2 separate regions of the Homo sapiens genome follow, and region 1 is linked to region 2. The links are contacts of gene promoters, found by promoter capture Hi-C in blood cells and fetal thymus (Javierre and others, 2016). All regions are on one chromosome and are shown on one strand. The core of a region is centred on a gene start or on the middle of the fragment in contact, and the rest is flanking DNA. Distances in the headings are between cores, read along the strand shown. Region 1 holds the start of ZNF30 (zinc finger protein 30). Region 2 holds the start of FXYD1 (FXYD domain containing ion transport regulator 1).

What was found. Contacts are between HindIII fragments. The CHiCAGO score rates a contact against its expected background, and 5 or more counts as called.
Region 1: the fragment with the promoter of ZNF30 here is called in contact with the fragment with the promoter of FXYD1 in region 2 in 5 of 17 cell types (neutrophils, erythroblasts, non-activated CD4 T cells and 2 more); the score reaches 10.8 in neutrophils.

Annotation. Positions count from the first base shown.
Region 1 is chr19:34,924,688-34,930,339 of GRCh38, forward strand. ZNF30 (zinc finger protein 30) reads left to right here and starts at 2,216. Exons shown (of 5, transcript NM_194325.3): 1 at 2,216-2,529; 2 at 5,197-5,269. The coding sequence starts at 5,261. It overlaps ZNF30-AS1 (ZNF30 antisense RNA 1), which reads right to left and starts at 2,139. Exons shown (of 3, transcript NR_110749.1): 1 at 2,042-2,139. The HindIII fragment of the contact is 20,354 bases long and covers 1-4,978 here.
Region 2 is chr19:35,137,202-35,142,963 of GRCh38, forward strand. FXYD1 (FXYD domain containing ion transport regulator 1) reads left to right here and starts at 1,623. Exons shown (of 8, transcript NM_021902.4): 1 at 1,623-1,693; 2 at 2,875-2,939; 3 at 3,396-3,428; 4 at 3,931-4,005; 5 at 4,335-4,371; 6 at 5,271-5,320; 7 at 5,519-5,570; 8 at 5,716-5,762. The coding sequence starts at 2,879. The coding sequence ends at 5,541. RefSeq lists silencers at 3,935-4,064, 4,175-4,394 and enhancers at 4,029-4,591, 5,715-5,762. The HindIII fragment of the contact is 25,239 bases long and covers 354-5,762 here.

The DNA of each region.
Region 1 (5,652 bases), core at 966-3,465, 210 kb before region 2:
CACTCCAGGTCTATCACCTTCTTATTTGTTAATGAAATATTTGTCTTCAGACATTGTAATAGATACCCAATGAGTTTCAGAGGGTTTGAAAATGAACACTTTAGACATGAATAGCCTATATGGTGAACTTACAGAGGCAAAGCGACTGGTCAACAAACAGCTGCTCTACCAAAAAAGCCTGGAGTTACAAAGCAGATGAACATTTTTGCAGAGCTGGAAACTAATTCCAATAAGGCTAAAAACTTGCTACTGCTGGTAGGGAAAATCCTAACTATTGACAGTCAAATGCTTTTGATGCGAGGCTACTTAGGTTGATGTTGATAAGAGAAAAGTTCCCTTGTCCCCCTGGCAGGGCGTGCGATGGGGGTGTGGCTCGCTTCTTCAGTGTCCCGCTGCTCAAACCTCCAGGGGAGTATACAGACGGGCGGGCTGTGGGGCTCTGACCCCATGGCAGTGTCTAGGGGTGAATGTTTATAGCTGAAGCCCCAGTGGGCGTGTTACAGGATGCTCTTTAGCTGTCCGCAGGCGGCTTATGTTAGTCAATTCAATTAGATCCCTGCGTTATCGCAAGGACAGAGGGCTTTCATATCCCGGGGTTCCTGTCTTGGTGTACCAGAAGAATCAGATCACACATGGGCTTGGAGGATGACTGCAGGGTTTTGAGTGGAAGTAGCTCTCAACAGTTGGGGGAGCCAGAAGGGAAATGGTTTTCCCCTGGAATCGGGCTGCTCCGCAGCACCGGCTCTCCTTGGACTGCCCCAGCCAAACTCCGCGTCCTTCTGGTGGGTGGCCTGCCCGCGTGCCAGCGTCTGTCATGTCTTCTTCCGCCAACATGTTCCTCTGGATGTCCAGCGGCTTGTGTGTCTGCTTGCTAGGGTCTCAGAGTATTTATAGGGACAGGATGGGGGCGGGAACAGGATGGGGGCGTGGCAGGCCAGGGTGGTCTTGGGAAACGCAACATTTGGGCAGGAAAACAAAAATGCCTGCCCTCACCTAGGTCAGTTGGCACAGGGCCAGGGGTGGAGCCCTAGCCAGGGACCACACCCTCCTGTACCCAGCACCTCCCTTTCCCCCTTCCATATCATTTAAAGGGACCCCGCCCTTCCCTCCCCAGCACTCCCCTTCCCCACCTCCTTATCAATGTCATCACCCTGGACTGACTCCAGGAATCACTGTAATGTGGGCTTAATAAGAACAGAGCTCGGCTGGCCGCGGTGGCTCACCCTGTCATCCCAGCACTTTGGGAGGCTGAGGCGGGTGGATCGCTTGAGCCCAGGAGTTCGAGACTAGCCTGGGCAAGATGGCAAAACCCCATTTCTACAAAAAATATACAAAAATTAGCCAGGTGTAGTGGCGCGCCCCTGTAGTCTCAGCTACTCTGGAGGCCGAGGTGGGAGAATCACTTGAACCTGGGAGGCAGAGGTTACAGTAAGCCGAGATAGCGCCACTGCATTCCAGTCTGAGCGACAGAGGGAGACCCTGTCTCAAAACAAAACAAAAACAAAACAAACAAAAAGCGGAGCTGACAGTCAAGGTGAATTTCACGTTTGCCTGTATTCAGTTTTAGCATTACATAAACCAAAAGAAGAATGCCATAAAGGCTACAGGCAGCTAATACAGAGAGGTGTTACTGGAAAAGGAACCAGAAAGAGTAAATATCTCCTAAACGTATGATGGGACAGAAAGATAAATGCCTATTACATATAGTTAATATCTGTTTGATTAGCCTTATTTACATTCTCCTTTTAAAAGGTCTTACATTTAGCATCTTAGATAGAACCCACAAAATTTAAATATTTAATAGAAACTTAAAATTCCTGTATCAGAGGACAGAAATATATTTTTCTCACACGTGATTAGTCTAATTGCCACTATTAATCCTATTAATATTCTGTTAAATAATAGCATTTCTGTAGCGAAAAGCAAACAGTACGGAAAGATAATTTCAAACACCTAGTTTTCATATTTTTGTGTTAAAGTAATAACATATTTTGGTATAGATTATCATTTTTTGTTTGTTTTTGTTTTTGCTTTTTCTGACCTGGTGTGTTAATGCCCTGGGTTGGCCCTCTAAGAAGCTGGCCACCTACTTCGGGCCTCAGGTGTCAGACGCCCCAGCTTCGAGGTCTATGGCTCCCAGCAACTCGAGCGCCTGCGCCTGCGCATTCTCAGCCGGACGGGAGCGCCCAGAAGTCTCCGGGCGCCGGTGGGCGGCCTTGTGGACTGCGCCGGGCATGCTCGGCGGTGTGACGGCTCAGGACTGCATTTCCCAGAGGCTGCAGCTATCCGGCCAATGTAGCCTGAAACTACATTTCTCAGCGGCCACTGGAACGACCTCAATCTCTGCCTCCTCGCCAGTTCATTGTGGTCGTTGACCCGGCAGCGAGCTTTGGAGTTCATCGAGGGAGAAGTCAGCGCCCAGCTCCGAGGTTGGAGCAGCCCCGCCGGGCAACTTGAATTTCTGCAAACGAACACAGCACCGGGAGCTCTGCAGACCTGTGTCGGCGCGGAACCCGGACTGAGACATGCGTGAGCGTTGGGTGGACCGGGCGAGGATCCCGGGCCGGCGAGTGCGGGAGCGGCAGGGCAGGGAGGGTGCGTCGGCCGGGGCCGGTGTGCATCCGCGAAGACTGGGTGCATGGCCTCCATGCGAACCTGAGCTATTAATATTTGTTACTATTTTGGATAAAATCACTGTAATTGATTTATGTAAAGGAGCAAAAGACTCTTCAACTCTCAGTTTAAAAAGGAAACGATAGTTATGATACCTTTTGCATGCAGCGGGAAGAAATGGGATTGCCAGGAAGCCTCTTCTTGTTTGGAAAAAACTGTATAAAGTATTTACACCTTTTAAAGATGAGAGCAATGTCATCTGAAAATTATCAGTGCAGGGAAAAGGACTTCAAAGGATCTGTTGTGCAGATTACTTAACTAATGACAAAATTATGTAAGAAAGGAGAGCAAGATGACAGCTGTAAACATTTCCATCAATCTCCATATTGCACAGAAATAGGACCCAGCTTTTTCTTAAGGTTCTTCAATTTTGCATTATCCCACAGCAGTAGCTCTCTCTCTCTAGCTGCTAGGGGACAGAGGAAATTGAAATGTCAGAGAATCTTTTCTGTTGGTTTTTTATTTGTTTGTTTTTAAAGAAGAGTTGCTCTTAATTTTTTAGTTAGAATTAAAAGAAAGCATGCCAGAGAAACTTACGTTTTAAGTAAAAAGTGGAAACAGGTCGGGTGCCATGGCTCATGCCTGTAATCCCAGCACTTTGGGAAGCTGAGGCGGGTGGATTGCCTGAGCTCAGGAGTTCGAGACCACCAACATGGCAACATGGTGAAACCCCGTCTCTACTAAAAATATAAAAATTAGCCAGGCATGGTGGCGTGCGCTTGTAGTCACAGCTACTTGAGAGGCGGAGGTGGGAGAAGTGCTTGAAGCTGGGAGGCGGCGGAGGTTGCAGTGAGTGGAGATGGCACCACCGCAATCCAGCCTGGGCGACAGAGCGAGATCCCTTCTCTAAAAAAAAAAAAATATATATATATATATATATATATATATATATATAGATAGATAGATAGATAGATACATAAATTAAATTAAGTGGAAACAAGTGTTTAATTAAAATGAAATAAAGGATGTATAATGTTTACGTAATAACTCCAATGCAGTAGTGCCCCCTTAATCGGCAGTTTCACTTTCTTCACTTTGTTACCCTCAGTCAACCATGATCTGAAAATAGGTGATTTTGGTACAATAAGATATTTTGAGAGAGAGGGGCCATGTTCACATAACTTTTATTACAGTATGCTATTATAGTTGTTCTATTTTATTATTAGTTATTGCTATTACTCAATTATGGTGGCCGGGTGCGGTGGCTCACGCCTGTAATCCCAGCACTTTGGGATACTGAGATGGGTGGATCAATTGAGGTCAGGAGTTCGAGACCAGCCTGGCCAACATGGTGAAACCCTGTCTCTAGTAAAAATACAAAAATTAGCCAGGCGTGGTGGTGGGCACCTGTAATCCCAGCTACTTGGGAGGCTCCCAGGAGGTGGAGGTTGCAGTGAGCCAAGATCACACCACTGCACTCCAGCCTGGGCAACAGAGTGAGACCCTGTCTCAAACAAACAAACAAACAGAAAAATAAAAATCTCTTATGGTGCCTAATTTATAAATTAAACTTAATCATAGGTGTGTATGTATAAGAAAAAACATAGTATATATGGGGTTCCGTCAGACATCTACTGAGGATCTTAGAGTGTATCTCCCCCCTGTGGATAAGAGGGAGCTACCATAGTAAGAGCTAACTCGGCTGCGCGCGGTGGCTCACGCCTGTAATCCCAGCACTTTGGGAGGCTGAGGCGGGCGGATCACGAAGTCAGGAGATGGAGACCATCCTGGCCAACATGGTGAAATTCCGTCTCTACTAAAAATACAAAACTTAGCTGGGCGTGACTATGCGCCTGTAGTCCTAGCTACTCGGGAGGGAGGCAGAGGCAGGAGAATCACTTGAATCTGGGTGGCGTAGGTTGCCGTGAGCCAAGATGGCGCCACTGCACTCACTCCAGCCTGGGTGACAGGGCGAGACTCCGTCTCAAAAAATAAAACAAAACAAAACAAAACAAAAGAGCCAACTCATGTTAAGCAAGTATTCTATTAACTTTTGGGGTGGGTTTTCTTATTCTTCAGGACAACCACATGTTGGAGCTGATACTCCTATTACTATTTTAGTGATGAGAAAACTGAGCCATATTAGTAACTGCCTGATCATTTTCTCCTATGTTCTCTACCTCCCGTGTCTTGACCAACCTCAGATTTATACTGTCACCATTAAAGAAGCTCTGGATTGGGTGATATGGACTCTTTCTTAGGCTTAGAACGTGGGAATGGAGTGAGGAGAATCTGTTCAAGAGAAGACTGTGCAACCCAATTTGAGACCTAGATCAACATTCCCAAAATGGGGGCCTGGTGGGAAAGCTTGTGTCTGATTCTGCCTTCCTTAAGAAGTGCCACACCTCTGCGATCAACTCTGTACAGCTTAGTTAACTGGGGCTTGAATTCCACTGTTCTCCAAATTTTGTTTGAGGGTGTTTGTAGCACAGTTTGGAAGCTGAAATGAAGGGACAGGAAGGTTTATTAATGTATGTCATTGAGAACACTAAAGCCTCCTTTTCTCCTCTCTGGATTTTCTAGCTTTTGAACTTCTCAGATAGAGGAACCCCAGTGAAGACTGATCAGTTCTTACAATTCTCAAAGCATGGCCCATGTAAGTTGGTGTTTCTTCTTGAAATATGGGGATTTTTATATTACGTGGCTATTTTCCTTAATTGACCTGAAGCATTCTTCATCAGAATGTACCATCTAATTGCCTACTTGATTCCTTCTGTTTGGCGGAATGATGTCAAAGTATCGTTTCCTCCTTACGAGGTCCTCATTTCTAATCGGTGTTCATGAATTCATTGAGCAAGTTACGAAGCAGGTAAATAGTAAGTCTTAGCTGAAAGGCTGTGATAGAGCAGTGGAGGATTGAAGTCCCGTGGCAGAAGTATTTGAGCTTCCTACATCCATCTGTGGTTTGATGAGTTTGATCTGTTGGCTTCATCTGGCCACACATCAGAAGATTTGAAGTTTTCCACAGAGCTGATAAGA
Region 2 (5,762 bases), core at 373-2,872:
GTTCACACAACCAGGAGTGCAGTGCCTGGGCCATTCCAGGTTTCCCTGTCACCAGGACCTGTAAACCTGGCCTGCCCATGGGGACGCCAGGTGTGTTGTCCCCGACAAGAGCTCAGGGGAAGGAAAGTGTGGGGTTAAATACATATCTGTGGTTTTGGAATGTGTGAACATGCAAGTGTGTCAGCCTGCGCATCTGTCACCGTGGCCAACCATGTGCCTGTTTGCTCAAGCATAGGGTGTGAACCAGTGTGTGTGTTTCTGCTTTTGTGGGTATGTGTGAGAGCGGCGGGTTGTCCTTGATGGTGTTTCTGCTTGTGTATCTGTGCCCATGGAAATCTGTCTGTGTGTACACAAGCTTGTTGGCCTTCCTATCTTTGGGACCATGTAGGAGTGCTGGCTGCATGTCTGTACCTTTGGGGTTTTTTTGTTTTGTTTTTGTTTTTGAGACAGAGTCTCGCTCTGTTGCCCAGGCTAGAGTGCAGTGGCATGATCTCAGCTCACTGCAAGCTCTGCCTCCCGGGCTCAAGTGACTCTCCTGCCTCAGCCTCCGGAGTAGCCGTGATTACAGGCGCACGCCACCACACCCAGCTAATTTTTGTATATTTTTTTAGTAGAGACGAGCTCTCGTCGGGTTGGCCAGGCTGGTGTTGAACTCCTGGCCTCAAGTGATCCTCCCGCCTTGGCCTCCCAAAGTGCTGGGAGTACAGGTGTGAGCCACCGTACCTGGCCATGTTTGGCCATGCATCTTAGAATGCATTTATGTGCGGTGTGCACATACTTGTGTGTTTCTGTATGGCCATTTGTGGGTGGGTCTTCACATAAACATGCATTTTTGTGGCCAGTTTGTGAGTGTAGATGGTGATGTGGCTATGTCTTTGACTGTATCTCTGTGTGGCCATCCATCTACATGAGCGTGCGTGGGTCTGTGTAGACATAAATGTGCTTGTTCTGGTATTTTGTGACTGGCATAAAAGGTGTTGGCTGTGTGTCCGGGTCTTTGGGTTTCTCTATCAGTGTGTCATTCTGTGTGTGTCTGCTTCTATGGATGTACATACATACATGGTTTTGTCTGGTTTTGTACCTGTATATCTGGGTCTTTGGGATTGTGTGTGGGTGTGTGTGTGTGGTGCATTTCTGGGGATCTCACCACAGCAGATAGCGCACATGCGCGCGCACACACACACACACACACACACCTCCCTCCCGTCCTCTAAAACAGCCCTGTTAAGGACCTCACGGAGCACTGGGATCGGGGGTCAGTGGGCTCCTGGGCAGTCAGGCTGGGTGACCTTCGGCCCTGGCTGGACCCAGTTCCCAGGGGGCAGCCGCCTCAGCCCAAAAGCTCTTGGAGGCGTGTGTGTTTGTGTGTGTGTGTGTTCACAACCCTGTCCTCCACAATCCTCCTAGCCTCTCCAGCCTGCCTGCTGGCTGCCTGCTGCTGCTCTCTCTGAACTGAGAGAGTTAACCAAGCGGGCCAGGGCAGTCTGGGCTGGGGGCCGCCCCCTGGCCCCCCTCCAGCCCCAGCTCCAGTTTCAGCTGCTGGTTGGGGAGGGCATGGGTGGGGTGGGGCTGGGAGGGGAGGCTGCTGGGGGCGGCGCGTCCAGCTCTGGGCCAGGGGGTCCAAAGTGCTCAGCCCCCGGGGCACAGCAGGACGTTTGGGGGCCTTCTTTCAGCAGGGGACAGCCCGATTGGGGTGAGCGTCCCCCACTCCTTCCCTCCAGGCCTCACCCCTGGTCTGGCTGGGCCGCCTATTTTGGGAGCAGGAGTGGCCAGCCCGAGGCTTCCCAGGCAGGCCAACCCAAGAGGGAGGGAGTGTGGTTGAGGCAGTGGGTTCTGCAGGGTGGGATGTGGGTGACTCCTCCCTGCCCTGCTGGTGCGTGTGCACCCTGGCAGGGTGTGGAGTTGGGACACACACGTGTGTAGGGCTGGTTGCGTCACTGCGTGGGGGCACCGGAGGCCCAGAGGAGGAGTATTGGATGCCTGACGGTGTTTACACCCCACGTCCTGCTCCAACCAGCAGTTTGGGGAGAGGTTGTTGTTCATGTCCATTCCGGCCCCACTGTGTGTGTGTGTGTGTGTGTGTGTGTGTGTGTGTGTGTGTATCCCTGCCCCAGCATGTGTTTTCTATCTCTAAGGCCCACTGGGCTGGGCCTCATGTCACTTGCCTGACATCCGATTGTGAAAGATGTCACCCAGAGGCGGGCAGAGGGGCTGTCTTTTCCTTTTCTCGTTGCTGCCCAGGGAGGAGACGGGGTGACCTTTCCCACAGGGGCAGCCTGTGGCGATGTGGCAGCTGGGCCTCACCCCGGCAGGGCTGTGCGTGACCCCCTGAGTGGGGGAAGGCAGGCTGTTGCCATGGTGGCCTGAGCGAGCAGAATTCCTCCAGGGTGAAGTGGGAGATATTTATACCCGGGGTCAGGCCGCGAGCGGGCGGGCGGAGAGGGCAGGGAGCTGGGATTTCGCGGGGCACAGTGAGGCCGGGCATGTAGGCAGGTGGGACTTGGGCGTGCCCTGCTGTCTCCTGCTCTGTGTTTGTGTGAGGCAGCGCCTCCTCTGCCCTGCCAGGGTAGGTCTGGGAATCGGGGGCCTGCTGCGGGAGGTGGAGGCCCAAGGGAGGCCCCCCGGGGACTGTGTGTCTCACCCCCGTCCCTGCTACGTTGTGTTGTTGTGTGATCCCATCGTGGAGGTTGTTTTGGTGACACTGTGTCCCCACGAAGCTGGGGATACCCGTTTCTCTAGCTTGGAGCCACCAAGATAGAGGACAAACACTTCTGTGATTCAGTCCCCAGACTGTCTCTGACTTAATCCCTTGGGTTCAAGCCCTATGTGGGAGAGCAAGGGCACACACTGCCTAATCCGTGGTGTCCCCCCCAGGACAATGGCGTCTCTTGGCCACATCTTGGTTTTCTGTGTGGGTCTCCTCACCATGGCCAAGGCAGGTGAGTGCAGGGGAGGCTGCCCGCTACCCACCTCAGCCCCAGGGGTGGCGGTGGGGACCGAAGAACCAAGTTGGAGACCCCAACCTAGACTAAGTCGGCTGGGGTACCAAGAAGTTTGGGGGTCTCCACGTGGGGTCCAGTCACAGGCTGGTATTTGGGGGAGGGGAGAGGAAGCCCCAGATCAGGCAAAGATGGGGTGGGATGGGGCTGAATCCCCGATGGGATAACTGGGTCACAGACAGCCTGCCGTGAGTCAGGGAGCTGGGGCAGTTAGGTGCCACCTGCCCCATCTGGGACAGTGCAGAGGGGGCAGCTGGGACCCAGAGAGTGTGGGCAGCCTGCCCAGACACCCTCAGACTCTAAGCCCAGCAAGGCAGAGCCTCCAGTGGTCTCCTCATGCCCCTCCCTGCCAGGACCCCAGGAAGCATTCAACCCCTGATTTCTCTCTCTTTCCAGAAAGTCCAAAGGAACACGACCCGTTCACTTACGGTGAGCGGGGGGTCTAATTTTGAGTCCTGGGGGAGAGCCTGGCTTTGCTGGTCCTTTGATTCCCCCTCGCCCTCCCCCAGAGTCCCAGTATTGATATCTCTGTCATTCTCCTTCCCTCTATTTTGTCCTTCCTCTCTGATTCCACCTGTCTGCATCTTTTCCTGTCTGTGTCTATCTGTGTCACTGTCTATGTGATACCTCTCTGGTTCTCTTTCTCTTGCCTGCGTCTGTCTCAGCATCTCGTGGCCCATCCTCTGCTTCTTCCCGTCTTCTCTCCCCCCTGTCCTCCTCCTCCCTGTCCCCTCCCTCCCTTTCCTATACACCCCTTTCCTCTCCCTGGTACCCCACTTTCCTCCTCCCATATCTGCTCCCCCTTAATTATCTTACTTCCCCCCTTCTGCCTGCTGGTCCTTTCTCCCTGTTCCCTCCTTCCCAATTTACCCCTCTCCTATTCTCCCTCCTGTCTTCCCTGCCCTCACCTTCCCTGCTCTGCTGCTCACAGACTACCAGTCCCTGCAGATCGGAGGCCTCGTCATCGCCGGGATCCTCTTCATCCTGGGCATCCTCATCGTGCTGAGTGAGTGCCCCTAGCTCCCGCCCTCTACCCCGCCTCTCCCTGGCCCCACCTCTCTCTGGCCCCGCCTCTCCCTGGCCCCGCCTCTCCCTAGCCCCCCTCTCCCTGGCCCCGCTTCTCCCTGGTCCCGCCCCTCCCTGGCCCCGCCCCGCCCCAACCCCTCCCAGGCCTTGCCCCGCCTACCCTGCCTTGGTTCCCCGGCCCCCGGTCTCGCCTCTAGCCCCGCCCCGTCCCCCAAGCCCCGCCCCTCGCGAGGGCGAGCTGGAGCTACAGCGCCGCTTGGCGCCCGCCGGGAGGGAGCCTCAGCTTCTCCTACCTCTCCACGCCCACAGGCAGAAGATGCCGGTGCAAGTTCAACCAGCAGCAGAGGTAAGACGCCCCTCCCCGCCCTCCTTCGCCCGCTCCTGCTCTGGAGGGCGCCGCGGGTGAGGCGGGGAGTACCCCTGACCCGCAGCCCGATCCCCGTCAGCGACTATGTATTAAGCACCTACTATGTGCCATGGCCCAAGCCTGGCCCTGGGACCAAGCGAGGAAAAAACCTCCCGCCCTTCCTGGCCGAGCTCCCAGCCTAGTGGAGGCGGTGGCCGTGGGTTCCAACAGCCCCACAGATAGAAAAATCACAAAGCGTGATAACACAAAGTGCAGGAAAGAAGAAACGGCGGTGAAATGAGATCATCTCACACGCGGCCCAGTTTAGCTTAGAGTCTTGTTCCTAGCTCTTTGATTCCTCTTCGAATAAAATGTTAAAGCATGGACAATGTATGAATATGTTAGAACAATTATAGATATTATCATAAGTAGTAGCTAATATTTACTGGGTGTGTACCACGTGTTAGATACGGTTTCACTTCCTCTGGGAGGGAGGTGCTGTTATTAACCCCATTTGACAGATGAGGAAACTAAGGCACAGGGAGGTAAAGTCACTTTGTTCAAGATCACTCAAGTGGAAGATGGGGGGTTCTGGGTTTCCAACCCAGGCCATCTCATGGCAGTCTGCCAAGTCCCCATGACTATCCCTCCCCCACCAACTTCACATCCCTGCCCCCAAATCCGCGGAGGTACTCACTGTTAACCAGCTTAGAAGCCCCCTGCCAGCACATAAGCTGCTCCTGGGTGCTCCTCATTTCTGGCGGACCCCGAGCCTGCTCTTCGTCCATATCTGGGCCTAGTTACACCAATCTGGGAAAGGAGGCTTGTACTGGGGGGTTCCTAGAAGGGCAGCCTCTCCCCCTTTCCATCCCGAAATCCCTCTGCCTCTGTCTTCCCAGGACTGGGGAACCCGATGAAGAGGAGGGAACTTTCCGCAGCTCCATCCGCCGTGAGTCTGGGGAGACTGCGGGTATTCTGGGGAGAGGGCTGGTTCCAAGGACCGCTTTTCCCGGCCCTCCCTGGCTGCGTAGAGGGAAGGGCTGGATCTGAAAGCGGAGGGCGGGGAGTTGCCCCGCCGCGGGCCCCACCTGCCCAGGAGCTGGGGATGCCTCTCCAGAATGACCCCCGATCTCCGTGTTCCCCCCAGGTCTGTCCACCCGCAGGCGGTAGAAACACCTGGAGCGATGGAATCCGGCCAGGTGCTGCAGCTCTGACACGGCGGTGGGAGGGAAGGAGGGAGGAAGGAAAGGCGGGAGAGGGAGGGGGCCAAGTGCCAGAGTTGAAGGGCGGCGAGGGGTGGGGCTGGACGTCCCCCCTCGCCTCTCACCCTTTTCACCCTCACAGGACTCCCCTGGCACCTGACATCTCCCACGCTCCACCTGCGCGCCCAC